Regions from separate parts of the Homo sapiens genome. Here region 2 is linked to region 1. The links are contacts of gene promoters, found by promoter capture Hi-C in human tissues and cell types (Jung and others, 2019). All regions are on one chromosome and are shown on one strand. Each heading gives the region's core, a stretch centred on a gene start or on the middle of the fragment in contact. The rest is flanking DNA. Distances are from core to core; before and after follow the strand shown. Region 1 holds the start of SH2D1B (SH2 domain containing 1B). Region 2 overlaps NOS1AP (nitric oxide synthase 1 adaptor protein).

What was found. Contacts are between HindIII fragments. The study calls those that stand out against the background at their distance.
Region 2: a fragment that was not itself captured here is called in contact with the fragment with the promoter of SH2D1B in region 1 in 1 of the 25 tissues and cell types used here (H1 embryonic stem cells).

What each region holds. Positions count from the first base shown.
Region 1 is chr1:162,409,384-162,413,698 of GRCh38, reverse strand. SH2D1B (SH2 domain containing 1B) reads left to right here and starts at 1,563. Exons shown (of 4, transcript NM_053282.5): 1 at 1,563-1,816. The coding sequence starts at 1,683. The HindIII fragment of the contact is 14,665 bases long and covers 836-4,315 here.
Region 2 is chr1:162,355,668-162,360,511 of GRCh38, reverse strand. NOS1AP (nitric oxide synthase 1 adaptor protein) reads right to left here. Exons shown (of 10, transcript NM_014697.3): 8 at 3,376-3,552. Among named protein-coding and RNA genes, the nearest start is that of MIR556, 16 kb to the right of the region's middle. RefSeq lists a silencer at 2,543-2,765. The HindIII fragment of the contact is 9,689 bases long and covers 1-4,844 here.

The DNA.
Region 1 (4,315 bases), core at 314-2,813:
TGTATACATGAATCACAGTTTATTCACCTGTCCCTCTATTCACAAGTCTTTGAGTTGTTTGTAATCTTTTTCTATTAAAAAATACTACCTTATTCACAAGTCATTTTCTAATTCTGCCTGTGTAGTTTTGTGACAGATTTCTAGAACTGAGATTGTTCTATCAGATGGTGAAGGCATACATAAATTTGCAAGATATTGCCAAACCATCTTTTACTATAGTTGTAACTATTTTTTATTCCAACTAATGATATACAAGATATTCTATTTTCTTTCACCATGACCAACCCAATAAGCTTTCAAACTTTTGATTTTCACCCATATGATAGGTGAGAGTTGTTATCTCAGCATGCAGGTAATTTGCATTTCTTTTATTGTGAGGGTTGGATTTTGAAACAGCAAAAAGGGCAAGGAAGCCCCTGTGATGACCAAGAGCCTGAGCATGCTTTCAGTTATTTCCTCTCTTATGTCAAAAAGCATCTTTACACCACGATTGTGAATTTATTCACAAGAAATACCAAATTTCTTCTTTCATTATTAACAACTCTGTCTTCAACTGCCATAGTTTCCAGAGAATTGAATAATGAATTGTCCAAAACCACAGAAGAAAAGTTGCTATTTGAGAGCATATCTGTCTGATAACGAGTTCCCTGATCAGTGAAACTGCACTATGCCAAATGCAGAGTGGGAATTCCAAGGAAGAACAAAGATCTGTTACAAGGAAGTTCCATAGAAGATACACCCAACTGTGAGTAAACAGCTGGTAAGCAAAGTAGCAAGGTGAAATAAACATCTAGGTTAAGAAGAAGTTAAGATCTCCAGGTACTACGGAGATGAAGAAAACAAAAAAAAGAAGAAGTTAAGAGAAGTAAAGATGAATCGTTAGCACATAGTTCTATTTTCATAGATAACATTTTTGAGATATATATAGTGATTTTCTGTAGATATATGAGTATACCCAGATATCCCTCCCACCTACACCAGCCCTTTCTCCAAAAGGAACAATGCTTGAGGGTGTTCAAATGGCCTTTTTTCACCAGTGGCTGGGAGCCTTAGCCATGGAATGGGCTGTCCTCATCCACAGTGTCCCACTGTTTTTTATTGCCATTAATGTCTTCCATTTTTAGTGTCATTTGATCCACGGAAATCCCACCCTTTCAATTTTCCCATTGTATCTGAGCATATCAATTCTCTCAGCATCCAAATGGTTTTTGAGCACCCAGTCTAAGCTAAGCATAGCCCAATCCTAGGCAACTTCAGCAGAAAATGGGTACCATTACAGCAAAAGCAGCGGTGTGCTTCCTGGAAAGGATACCAGTAGCCAAAGAAGTTGATGATAGTCCATGGTAATATACAAGGCTGCAACACAGTTCCAGGAAGCTTGACTTCAGCATTGCCTCCCTAGCCATGAGCATCACTGATTCCATTGTGTGTTTAAATGTGCTTTACCTACTTCTGTGAGTCACATGTGGGCCATTTAGAGGGTGAAAAGTGTTGGTCATTTTATCACCCCGCCCTCCTCATTTCCTGAATCTTGTGAAGCTGGCTGAGTCCCACAGACCGCTAGAGGAAGAGGTAGCTCCACAGGAGGTACAGCTGCTTACACATCTCTCCTCAGAGCTGTCCCTTGACTTGGGGGTGAATTTCAGGCCAACAGGGCTTCCTGGGATACAAGAGCGTTCTCCATGGATCTGCCTTACTACCATGGACGTCTGACCAAGCAAGACTGTGAGACCTTGCTGCTCAAGGAAGGGGTGGATGGCAACTTTCTTTTAAGAGACAGCGAGTCGATACCAGGAGTCCTGTGCCTCTGTGTCTCGTGAGTAGCCTCATCTTGCACACATCTGACATCGTATGTTGAATGTGGCAATGGCTGCCACACAGTACAGGAATTCATATCCCTCAGTATTTCACTCTGACTTTGGAGTCTCAATGAGTAGAATGAGAAGTAATGGACACTGCCAGGAGAGGAATGTATCTGTCCATGCTCCTCCATCTGCCTGCTCTCCCTGGTGTAAAGGCCCTGCAAGCAGACTCTGCAGCAGCAGGAGGGACATGGTGGTGGTGAAGGGAAGGGCTGCAGGAAGTACAGGGGTACAGAGGGATGGAAAGAAGGTACAAATGTCAGAGGTCCTGTCCTCCAGAGATCTGTTTATTTGGTATGGAAAAGGCTAGGGGTTCTTCAAGAAATTTCAATCTGAAACACTTATTCTGCAGCATCTGCTTGCAATACGTAAACTATAAATACAATCATATTTCACATTTTGTTAGATTTGTGAAGGACTTCAATATTCGTCATTTCCTTTCATCCTAGTAGTCTATCAAGGCAAGCATAAGCAGTCACCATTTCATAGGTAAAGAAACAGAGACCTGAATTTCTCAAATAATTTGTTTGTGTTAAAACTCATTTGGAATTTCCAGAGTCTAAGTTAAACATGAAATTCCAGGCTGGGCATGGTGGCTCATGCCTGTAATCCCAACACTTTGGGAGGCTGAGGCAGGTGAATCACTTGAGGTCAGGAGTTTGAGACCAGCCTGGCCAACACGGCAAAACCCCATCTCTACCAAAAATACAAAAATTAACCTGGTGTGGTGGCGTGTGCCTGTAATACTGGCTACTTGAGAGGCTGAGACAGGAGAATCACTTGAACCCAGGAGGCAGAGGCTGCAGTGAGCTGAGATTGCACCACTGCACTCCAGCCTGGGCAATAGAGTGAGACTCTGTCCAAAAAAAAGAAAAAAGAGTGGCTGGGCACAGTGGCTCACTCCTGTAATCCCAGCACTTTGGGAAGCGGAGGCAGGTGAATCACCTGAGGTCGGGAGTTCGAGACCAGCCTGACCAACACGAAGAAACCCCGTCTCTACTAAAAATACAAAATTAGCCAGGTGTGGTGGCGTATGCTTGTAATCCCAGCTATTTGGGAGGCTGAGGCAGGAGAATCACTTGAACCCGGGTGGTGGAGGTTGCAGTGAGCTGAGATTGTGCCATTGCACTCCAGCCTGGGCAACAAGAGCAAAACTCCATCTCAAAAAAAAAAAAAAAAAGAAAAAGAAAAACAAATTCCAGGCCACAGTATCAAAGAGACCTAGCTGAAGGAACTTGTTTATGCCCAGTTTAGAAAGCAATCCTGAACAGAAATCACTAGAAACCTCCTATCTTTATGTATGTTCCTCTTTGTAAAGTAGGGACCACTGAACCTTTTATTATACCTGTAACAGAAATTAAAATCCAAATGTCTCTTGTTAAAGAAAAAAATTACTCAATGTCACTTGTTAAATTATGGTTGGGAAGACTTTATTCAGGATCATCACAAAGGTACAGGGACCACTGCAATGAGCTCTTGCGGCACAGAAAAGAGACTGGACTCAACTCTGAATCCAGCATGGACAAGTGGGAATTTATGGCCAAGGAGCAGTGTGGCTGTCGGTAGACAGAAAATTACTCGGAGGAAACATCAGGGGTAAAGTGGATTCTGGCTAAACCAGCCTAACAGAATTGTAGCTGAAGACAGGCCCGGGTGATCAGATGTTGCCTGGGGGATGGTGGAGGATGAGGAATCTGATCAGAATCCAACAGTGATCAGATAGCTAGGGTGAGGGGTCCTTGCCAAACTGACTTAGTAGGGTTCTTTGCTAAAACTGGATTTTACAAGGAAGTACACAAATGGGCCTTGGAATAGGCTCAGAAGTCTGATTATAGACAAAAGTGATTGTCATTACTAATAGAATACACAGGGACATATTTCTTTCTTTAAATGGTACTGGAGATACAGGCTATTTCTCTCATATCTACATCCAACAGTACCATTTAAAGAAAAATATATATTGGCCAGGCGCGGTGGCTCATGCCTGTAATCCTAGCAATTTGGGAGGCTGAGGTGGGCTGATCACTGAGGTCAGGAGTTCAAGACCAGCCTGGCCAACATAATGAAACCCCCATCTACTAAAAATACAAAAATTAGCCAGGCATGGTGGGTGCAGTTGTATCCCAGCTACTTGGGAGGCTGAGGCATGAGAATCGCTTGAACCCAGGAGGCAGAGGTTGCAGTGAGCCGAGATCGCGCCATTATACTCCAGCCTGAGAGACAGAGAAAGACTCTCCATCTCAAATAAAATAAACAAAGAGTGGAAAAGATCTGCTTACATGTAAATGGGATGGAGGGCATTTTAGGAAGGGGAGGAGGTAGGAACAGGAGTCTAGAAGTGGGATATTTTAAAGGATTTACATACAAGGTTCCTAAAATGTAGTTTGGAAACCAGCTTTTGGAAAAGGAGGGTGGGATAAGATCATGGAGTTTTAAAAGAATGGTTCTATAGA
Region 2 (4,844 bases), core at 924-3,423, 54 kb after region 1:
GAATTGGCAAACTGTGAATAGACCTGGCCTACTTAACACTTGCCAATCAGCCACAGTGCCCAGATCAGTTCTGAGACTATGTCGGCCCAGCCCATGGCCATGCAGGTGCCAGCTACATCCCAGCTTCGCTTCGAGGCTTAGCTATACTCTCATTCACACCCTTGAACTTCTGGTCCACCTAAAAGCAGGAAGCTAGTGCAGCCAGGCAAGCCTCATGCTGGGTCGGAAGAGCGGTCAGAGGGACTTGGGTATTCACTACTTACCCACTGAGGTCTAACCCGGAAATACTTAAGAGTTGGTTGAATACCACCTTTGCCCATATACCTTTAAGGTCAGGGCGGGCCCCTTTGAGACCAGCTCAGAACCAATTTAGGGTGAGGCTGGGAGAGGTCTTGCGGTCTTAGACCAAATCAGGACACTGTGAAGGAAACCTAAGCCTGGTCCCCATGGCAACAGCAGAACTAGACTAGTCTGTGGGAAGAAATGGGGGTGGTGGGGGGGGGACGACATAAATAGTGCAACAAGTGACATCAAGGGTACACTTGTCTGCAAGAAACTGTCTTTATCCTTAGATTTTTATCCAGGAACAACATAGGAGGATTTGGATGCTCTCCGAGAGAAGGAAACTATTCCCACCTGAAAGGCTGAGGTCATAGTTTTACTCACTGGAATTCTGGGGACTGCTGGTAGTTTAATAAAGACAGACAGAAGCCTTGCAGTTTGGTGGCAATAGAGTCTGACAGAACAAGTAAGAGCTGACCTCGTGCTGGAAACTGAAATCAGCCCCCCCCCGCGTAGAGAAACCAAGCTTGCTATACTTGGTCTATTTCAAATGTGTGAAAGATGCCAAGAAGACCCACCTATTAATCCAGCTACATCTTACGTAATTGTTTTTACCCAAGGATATAGACACTAGTAAAAAAGCCCTTGAATTAAACACTACAAAGAAAGTGGAAGAATGAACAGTGTGCGGAGAAACCTCTAACTGAAGGTCAGTTTAGGACCGAATCCGTCTGCAGGACAGGAGAGCTGAAAGCCAGCTGAAATGTACAATATCCCTGCTGTGGTCCTGGACAGCAAAAGCAAGATGCGAACAGAAAGAAGGTAGTCAGAGACAGATGGGCATGGCAGACAGAGGTACAGGAGTATGTTCAAGAACCTATCAGATGACCCCAACGTCCTATCTGATGATTTTGGAAGCCTAAGACTCTCCCTAAAGTCATCTCACAAATGTGGGACACAGATGCAGTATGGTGGCCTTTTGATCACCACACTGCTTGTATTGAGAGTCAAGCAGGGCAACTATATTCAACAGATTCCAAGTGAGTGAGAGGCTAAGGGTGCTCAGCCTGTGGACATGTGGAACCGAGAGAGGCTCATGAAGCAAATCTCTAATACCACACCCTTTCCTTCCCCTAGATTCATTGTCTTCTAGGAGAGACACAATTAAAACAGGGCCAGGGCAGGATTTCCCATGGAGACTGACAATTGATTCTATACCAGAAAACTACTCTTAAGGTTTCATCCTGACTGTAGTAGACCTGTGATAAGTTACATGTCTTGTTGCTTTGGAGATTGAATGCTTCCTTCCACCGCCACAACACTATTGTGTGGATTACACATTTGCAAATAGTTTCTCTCTAGTACTTAGCAGTGACTTCGAATTCAAATGCCTCCCTGATAAAATCATATCATGAATATGCATCAAGCCCACTCTTAGATAAATAATAATTACTTGGCAATTGATACGCTGCAAAATAAAAGTATTATGTTCTGTATTCAATGGGAAACTTGTGGAAATGAAATGAGTCTGAGAATGGACCCGTGCTGCAGTGCTTAGTCTTTGTGCTCCTGTCAACTGTCACACTAGGGAGGGGATTCTCAGACTGCTGTGCCATCATTAACTACAGGAGATGGATTCTTTTATTTGACAAAGAGAAATGATTTTTTTTCTCCAAATATAAGAAGCCATTAATGACATTCCCCCTCTCTGTTGCTGTTTTGGGAACACCTGCAAATCCTCCTAGCATCACGAGATATCCTTTTGTTTCATGGTAAGACTTTTTAAAAAGACTCCGATAACTTGAGAGCTGTGTCCCATTGACTCTACTCTCCTGAAACCTGGCTGCAAAAGTCATCCATGAGCCTTGCATCTCAGGCCCAGGTCAGGAGAGACCGTGTTACAAGAAGGTCTTCTTCAAACCCTGAGTCATAGCAGATCCTGTTATGGCCAGGACGCCGGATGCCTCCTCAAGGTGGAAAGGTGGAAAGGATATCTCTGGCTGGATGATTCAGTCCACTCAAGAGCCAGGACAAGAGTAAGCAGAAGACATAACAGAGAGCAATAAGTGCTCCCTGGAGAAGTCTGCTCCCCGCCATTCTAGAATGCAGAAAACCTAAGTGGTCAACAGTCTGGTCAAGCAGATTTAGAATGTTGATGCAGGCTGCCTTTCCAGATCCTTTACCAATTCTTCCAAGCCCCAACTGCCCCGTCTCCTAAGATCTTCATGCACTCATCAGGCCCTGACCCTGCCTCTCGCCTCAGGATTCAGCCTTGGGTATGAATGAATGTCTTCACCATTCCCTGAGTGCTGGTGGTAGAGAGGGAGCTCAGACTTCCCAAGAAAGATGTGGACTACAGCGCCCTCTATAGAAAGCAAACAAGAAGAATCCCTGCTGAAAGCAGCAAGGGAAATCAGCTCACCCTCCCCTATAATGTAGCAGCCCCCGAACAAGTTTTTTGGGGTACAAACACCACCTTGATTCTGAGATCTAAGCCAATTCTTTTCATTATGGCTCAAATAATACACCTAAATTCCTGTAAGTTAAATCCTACAATAATGAATTCCAATCAAATACTGCCTGGAATAAGTAGATCGTAATGAAGGCTGGGAAACCTGTTATAGACACGGAGACTGGGATGCTAGGGTAGTAATCTTTTTACAACAGTGTTTGGCACAAATTCATACTTTAAGCTGTTTTAAGAGTGGTATCATAAAGCCACAACTGTTCTGACTCCAAAGGCATCACTTTCCACCCCAAATATCAGGAAAGTAAGGCAGGAAAGGAAGGGTGGAATTGTGTGCATCTTTTCCCTTGGTCAGTTCAAGTCATTAACAACATTCAGCCAAGCCAGCCAAGCCCAGCTCAGAGCAGGGGATACATGGGAAACCAAAATGTGCCTCTCCATTTCAACTGCATCCCCCATCTATCCCCCTCCCGCTGCCCCCACTCCCCAACAAGCAATGATCCAATAGCATGAGCGATTCCTTATGACTCCCTAGATTTTAAACCTGCCCTGAGCCCCTCGCTAGGGAAGGTGCATCAAGCCCATGAGAGTGGAGCCTGCGAAGTAGGGAGGAGGCTGAGGAGAACCTGGGCCACAGCCACTTGTGTCTGCTGCTGCTGCTGCTGGAGGAGCTGCTGGAGGAGCTGCATCTGGTGGTGAGTGGACAGCGGTGTCTCTGTGCCCAGGCCTGGAGGCTTCGAGGAAGAAGAAGGGAGCAGCATCCTGGGTGAGGCTGTCAGCATGGGCTCCTGGGGGTGCGAAACCTGGAGGAGAAGGAGAAGACAGGACATGACATGTGGCAGGAGCCATCTTGAGGGGCCTCCCTCTCTTTGGCATGCACTCAGGAGGAGCAAATTGGCACACTTACAACCCATAAGCTGACAGCACTATATCTTCAATGGAAATGGGAGTAGAGGCCCAGAAAGGAAATGGTGTAGCTGCCTGGGCTGATACCACACAGTCAGAAAATCGTAGGGGGACTAGGGGGACACCTCGGTAACTGACCCCGATGGGAGACTGATGGCTGATACTGCTCCATCTCTTGCCCACCACTTCCAATGATACCCTGTCACTGAGTTCCTTGAGGTTCTAGACTTAGAAGAATCTATTTTAGGAAAACGTAGCTTCCATCCACCCTACCATGATAACAGGAAGGACCCAGCTTCAATCCTCTACTCTGCTGTGTCCTTAGGGCTCCCTCCTCCAGGGTCTGAGATGTTCCTTCTCCCTTGTTGGGAGAAGCGTGGAGCTGGGTCCTGGAGGAAGGGGCCATGTGAGGGGGCTACCTCCTGCCCTCCACTGCCTCTGGTGAGAACCATCGGCAAAGAAGTTTGGATCCTAAAATATATAATGATCTGGAGAGATCCTCTTAGATGAAAGAAGTTCCTGTGTCCTTCCCTCCTTTCCTTCTGTCTCCCTCTCCTGTGGACATTTTTACCAAGATGGCTTCTACGATTCATAGAATTCCATGGCAGGGAAAGACATTTTGTTTCTGGCAGTTCTGCTGTGGGGACTTCTTCAGACATACACAAGGAAGGCCCCCAGTGACACAGGGCTGTTTCCACTTGTAGAGGATAAACTGGTTCCAAAGGAAACGTCAGGCAGCTAGTTTAGAACTGAACTGCCCTCCAAACCTCCATGTGAGATAAGATATGAATGTTAAAGAGAGAGAGGTGCCCTGATATAAACCGCCTGGGAATCTAAGGGTAGAGCTATTGGTCAGTAATTTTGCTTCTGGGTTTAAAACATTTTTAATTAGCTTTGGCTTCAGGTTGGAATTTGATCTCAAGTTCTTAGTTTCTTAATTGGATCACATTAGGAACCCCCAGATGCCACAGTCATCTCACCTATATGATGTTAGGTTAGAGCTGATGAAGACTAAGGTGGTCTCTCAGTTTCTGACATCCAGTGGGCCAACTTCCAGACTCCAAAGTGCTATCCACAGGAATTACCAACGGTATACCACCGCTACTGCAGGCAGAGCGGGCCCAAACTGACTTTGCTCTACTAGCTAAGTCACAGGGGAGTCTGTGTGTGTGTGTGCCAGAGTGAGCCT